2 separate regions of the Homo sapiens genome follow, and region 1 is linked to region 2. The links are contacts of gene promoters, found by promoter capture Hi-C in blood cells and fetal thymus (Javierre and others, 2016). All regions are on one chromosome and are shown on one strand. The core of a region is centred on a gene start or on the middle of the fragment in contact, and the rest is flanking DNA. Distances in the headings are between cores, read along the strand shown. Region 1 overlaps SETD7 (SET domain containing 7, histone lysine methyltransferase). Region 2 holds the start of ELF2 (E74 like ETS transcription factor 2).

Region 1 (2,700 bases), core at 60-2,559, 350 kb before region 2:
TTACTTGTGTACACTAAATTAATTCTTAAGTACATTTGAACTGAATATTTTCCTAACACACTAGAAATCCAAAATTTAATATTGAGAAGGGAGATCTTATGAATAGTGGGTAGGAGTGTCTTGCTAAAGATCGTCATCATATTTGATTTTGGCCAAAAATAACACTTAGTTACATTTCCTTTAAATATTGGTAATTGATGTTACAAATATCAAAGAAACATCATTTATTTCTTAGTAAACCAACATAGAGTATCAGTAACTTGTCCCGGATTACAAACTGCAACGGAATTTCCCACTCTCTAAATCAGGCATACATGCCCCAAATGCGTATGACTTTCTAGCAGTATATTTGTATGGAGCTGGATGAGGAGCTATGCATCATGTTTTTCTTACCCAGGTGAAAAGCTCTGGGTTCCTAAACTGTTATTATCCCTACTGGTGCTATATTAATAATGGGACTGCAGAAGAGAAATTTCTTGGGACTCATGTCCTAGACATACTATATATAATATTTTCTGGTTTTTGGTTTCTCCCATCAGGATGGAGGAAGCCTTGTAGGAGAAGTAAATGAAGATGGGGAGATGACTGGAGAGAAGATAGCCTATGTGTACCCTGATGAGAGGACCGCACTTTATGGGAAATTTATTGATGGAGAGATGATAGAAGGCAAACTGGCTACCCTTATGTCCACTGAAGAAGGGAGGCCTCACTTTGAACTGATGCCTGGAAGTAAGTTGAATCTGCTTCAGATGGGTTGCTCCAATTCCAAAGCAGGTTGTTAGGGCTGATTTGAGACAAGCTTCTTTTCTTTTCCTCTCTGTATAGTTCTCTTTAATCGTGTTTATTAGTCAGGTTTTATTGCATAACAGACACTGCACCTCCCCAGTGGTTTACAACAGCAACCACAGCTCTGCCGAGCAGCTGTACTCCAGCTGGCTGAGGCTGGGCTTAGGGGGCCAGGCCAGACTTGAGGCTTCTGGTCAGGTTTGAGTCAGCTCTCTTTGTCTTAATTCTGGGGCCTAATCTGAAGGGACAATGGCAATGTGGGGCAACATTTTCCCACAGTGGATCACAGAAGTGTCAGAGCATAAGCAGATACCTGTGATGCCTTTTGAAACCTCACCTTGGAACTGACATGGTGGCACTTTACTCACTTTTCACTGGTCAAAGCAAGTCACATGGCCAAGCCAGACATCAGTGAGACAGGGAAATTACACCATACACATTAGTGGGAGATACTGAAAAGTCATGTGACAAAGGGCCTAGGTATATAATTCTCATATAGGGAGGGAATAAAGAAATGACAGCAGTAATTCAACTGATTTCAAATGGTTATCTCTCCAAAAAACTGTACTATGATAATAAAGAACCAAATCAAGTAGATCTCTAAACTGTAAAGTTGATTGAGCCTGAGCTGTGACTGGAAAATATAAATGCATATTGGCATCTCGAGCCCAACATCTTGCGTGGAGCACAATGTATGAGTGAACCCAATGGAATCCATATTTGAAAAAAGTATTATTTTCCTTTTAGAAGTACACATGTCACACTAAACATTTTTTCTGAGTATAAAATTACTAAGTGTAGAAAATCTGGAAAATATACAAAGAAAAATCAAGATTTTGCATTTTGAGTGGCACAGCTTAAGAAAGCTATTTGAATTGGTCTGATTCCCTGAAAACAATATATGCATGTATTTCTGAGCCAGGTTTGGTTATAGGGAGAAAAAAACAGAAAAGACAATAAATCTGGGCATTAATAGGCTTAAATAGTATTTAGTTATTTGGGATCTGAAGAAGAATCTCCAAAGGAAGCTTGTCCAAAAGTGGAAATTTTAGCATTTATATTTAGGTCCAATTTGGGTTGCTTTAAATGTCTTTTTTGTTTTTTTAAGTTAAAAATGGAGACAGTCTAAATGCAATGTGGGATTCTGGATTGGATCCTGGAAGAGAAAAAGGACATTAGTGGAAAAACTGGTGAAATCTAAATAAAGTCTAGAGTTTTGTACATAGTAATGTATCTGTGTTGGTTTCTTAATTTTGACAAATGTACCATGCACTGTAAGAAGTTAACATTAGGAGAAACAGTGAGGATGCTCTGTGCTTTCTTTGCGACTTTTCTGTATACAGTCATGGGCCCATAACAACTGTGGTACCATAAGATTATGCCATATTTTTGTTTTTATTTCATTTTATTTTTTAAGGGACAGGATTTCACTCTGTTGCCCAGACTGGAGTGGACTGGTGTTATCATAGCCCACTGCAGCCTTGAGCTCCTGAGCTCAAGCAATCCTCCTGCCTCAGCCTCCCCAGTAGCTAAGACTACAGGCATGCACCACAATGCCCAGCTAAATATTTTTAAATTTTTTTGTAGAAACAGGGTCTTGCTGTATTGCTCAGGCTGGTCTCAAACTCCTGGCCTCAAGCAATCTTCCTGCCTCGGACTCTCATAGTGCTGGGATTACAGACATAAACTACTGCACCCAGCTAAGATTATATCATATTTTTACTGCATCTTTTCTGTGTATAGATATGTTTAGATACACAAATCCTTCCCATTAGGTTACTGTTGTCTATGGTATTCCCTATAGTAACAAGCTGTACAGGTTTGGAGCCTAGGGGCAATAGGCTGTACCATTTATTAATAGCCTAGGTGTGTAGTTGGCTATACCATCTAGGTTTGTGTGAGTACACTCTCTGA
Region 2 (2,700 bases), core at 3-2,502:
GGGCAACCCACGGCACCGTGTCATTGGCTTTTGTGCACTTGAAGGCGCGTGAGAGTGCCCCGCTCGAAGGCTCCCCTTTGTGTGAAAGTGTGGAAACCAGAAGCGTGCAGCCACTGCTGGGTTTTCGTTTTCGAATTCGCAGGCACTTGGGCCAAAATACTCCCACACCAGAACACTCTCTCATTCTCGCACCAACAACACTCAGACTTGAGTTACTTCTCCGTTGCGGACCGCGCAAGGAGCGACAATGGCTAGGTGCGAGTGCCCGCAGCTCCCCGGGCAGCTCCAAGGGGCCGCCCGCCGCGCTCCGCAGCTGCGCGCTGGGCCCAGCCACCCGACAGCCAGCAAACGCCGGCACCAACCGCCGCGCGGCCGGGCTGTTGGGCGGGTGGTAATTTCTGGGAATGGGGCGGGGTCGCGGGTGTACTACGCCCGGCTTTTGCTAGCGGGGAGGAGGAGCTGGCGGCGCCGAGGGGCGCGAGGCTGGCGGGGCGGTGCGCCACGTGCGTCACCGGCCGGGGCGGGGCCGGCGTCGCGCTCCTGCCCGAACCCCCACCTTTCACTAAGCCAAGGCTGAGGAGTGGGAACTGGAAAGACCGGGCTAGGAGTTTTTGCAAAACCTCGCCCCCCTGTAACTGTCAGACTGCCCGACTGTGGGGCCGTCTCCGGAGAAGGGCGAGAGTCCTGAGTTGGGGATGCGGTGACGGCGGGGCCTGCGGGGGCCCTGAGTGGCGAGGGTGTGTGCGTGCGGTCCCGGCCGGCGGGGGAAAGCCGGCGGGCGCTGCAGGTGCACGCGCGGCCCCATCGGCCTCACACGCCTGCCCCGTGCGGCAGAGCCCCCTGCACCAATCCGGGGCTGGAGTGGAGAGCGAGATCGGGGAGCCCTGGGCAAGGAGCCGGACAAGTGACGAGCGTCTTTACCTGGGAAGGCGGGTTTGGGAGAAGTTGGGCGAGGAGAAGAGGGCGGGATTCAAGACAGCAAAAGAAGCAGGTTCGGCGGGCTGGTGGGGGCCCGAGGGCGGCGGGGCCCCGCGGGGTATAAATAGCCGGCCCGCGTTTGACAGGCGCTGCGGTGACTGGCGGTGCCGCCCCCGCCCCCCCGCCGCGTGGGGAGGGGAGGAGCACTCTGAGCTGGCGGGGAGGGGGAGGCGGACTCCAGTGTCCTGGTGGAGGCGGCAGGAGGCCGAGGGGGAGGAGCCGAGGCGGGGGGTGGAGGGAGGGGGCCGGGAGCGGAGCGGGGCGGGGGCAACCATTGCTCCCAGCGCCAAGCTCTGTGTCGCCGCCGTCGCCTAGGCGGTTGGGGGTCGGTGGGGCGGCGCGGGCGGGGGTCGCTGCGCGGGGCGGCGAGCCTCTGTTTTGTCTCCTTCTCTCCCTGTGGAGCGGCTCGGGCTGCTGGGGAGGCCCCGGCTCCCTCCGGACGCTCGGCCAACGGCGGCGGCTAGTCCGCGGCCCTGCTGAGAGGGAAAAGGACGCCGCGGTCTTCCCAGGCGTCGCGGAGAGCAGGTAAGAGCGCGGGCAGCCGAGGCTGGTGAGAGGGAGCGCGAAGGGCGCGGCGATAAAGCCTGGCTGTCCCGACTGCCGCCGCCTCCCTCCGCGCCCCCGCCCCGCGCTTGTGTTGTTTGCTTCGGGGTTTGCGGAGGGGTTTTCCGGCGGCTGCGGCGGTGACACCGGCCGGGGGCTGGGGGAAGGGGGCTGAGTGTCCCCAGGCAACGGTCGCGGAGCGGGACTTGGAGAAAGGGGAAGGCGCGCTGCGCGCCTGCCCGCGGGGAGCGCGGGGCGCGGGGCAGGGCTGAGGGAAGAGGTTACAGACCCCGGCGGGGGGGATGGGCCGAGCGCAGCTGGTCTCTCCGTGTTTACATCTCTGCGCGAGTCACCTCTGCCGAGAAGCGGACTGAACTGACCCGCCTCATCCCGCGGGGAGGCCAGGGCGGGGGTCCGGCTCCGGAGGAAGCGCGTCCTGGGAGGGTTTGTGTAGGGCGGGAGTCTGCGGCCGGCGCCGGGGCTGGGCGGCGAGCTCGGGGCGGGACCTGGGAGGCTCCGGCCGCTCTGGGTGGCGGGCAGGCGGGGGGGGGCGCTGGACACCAGTTTCCTTCCCTGTCGTGCCTTATCGCCGCCGCTTACCTTTCCTTCCCGGCGCTGCTAGCTTGCACGACAGGTTGTACTCGGCAGTTCTTTTATTCTCGCTCTCCACGCCGGCACCGTGCTGCCATCTCCCCCTATTCCCCGGGAGGTAGGGAGGCTTTGCTCGGATCGGAATCTGTTTCTTAAGCAAAACAAAAACGGGCTCGTAACAGGCACGTCCAGTGACCGCCTTCTGGATCCTCGCGAAGCTGGTCCTCAGGGACCGCGCGACGGGATGGTCTAGGGGCGCGGAAGGAGGACAGGGAGGGCTCTGCCAGGGCTGGATGCTGACTCTACCCCAGGAGCTTTGTGATCAGGGTAGCCGAGCCCTCTCTTCTGCTCCATTTGGGCATTTTTATTCCATGTCCATAAAGGACTCAAAAAATATTCCGTGACACCAAGAATAATCCAGATCGCACAGTTTCTAATCTTTTTCCCTCTGCCAGCATCCTGGATGGACTCTTTCTAGGAGGCAGATTCGCTGCAGAATAGCCTTTAAGTTTAGTACTTCATTAAATGAGGAAGAGGGGGACACGTCATTGTAAAACTGTTAAAAATTCCCCCCTTTCTTGTGTTCAT

The links. The method cuts DNA at HindIII sites, captures the fragments that hold promoters and counts their contacts. A CHiCAGO score of 5 or more calls a contact.
Region 1: a contact is called between a fragment that was not itself captured here and the fragment with the promoter of ELF2 in region 2, in 8 of 17 cell types (fetal thymus, erythroblasts, activated CD4 T cells and 5 more). The highest score is 8.4, in fetal thymus.

What each region holds. Positions count from the first base shown.
Region 1 is chr4:139,527,060-139,529,759 of GRCh38, reverse strand. It overlaps SETD7 (SET domain containing 7, histone lysine methyltransferase), which reads left to right. Exons shown (of 8, transcript NM_030648.4): 4 at 540-729. Among named protein-coding and RNA genes, the nearest start is that of SETD7, 28 kb to the left of the region's middle. RefSeq lists an enhancer at 1,198-1,257. The HindIII fragment of the contact is 1,015 bases long and covers 802-1,816 here.
Region 2 is chr4:139,175,770-139,178,469 of GRCh38, reverse strand. It overlaps ELF2 (E74 like ETS transcription factor 2), which reads left to right and starts at 1,252. Exons shown (of 10, transcript NM_001331036.3): 1 at 1,252-1,503. It overlaps LOC105379412 (a long non-coding RNA gene), which reads right to left and starts at 2,315. Exons shown (of 4, transcript XR_007058273.1): 1 at 2,122-2,315. RefSeq lists silencers at 282-661, 672-1,631 and an enhancer at 2,232-2,281. The HindIII fragment of the contact is 9,266 bases long and covers 1-2,700 here.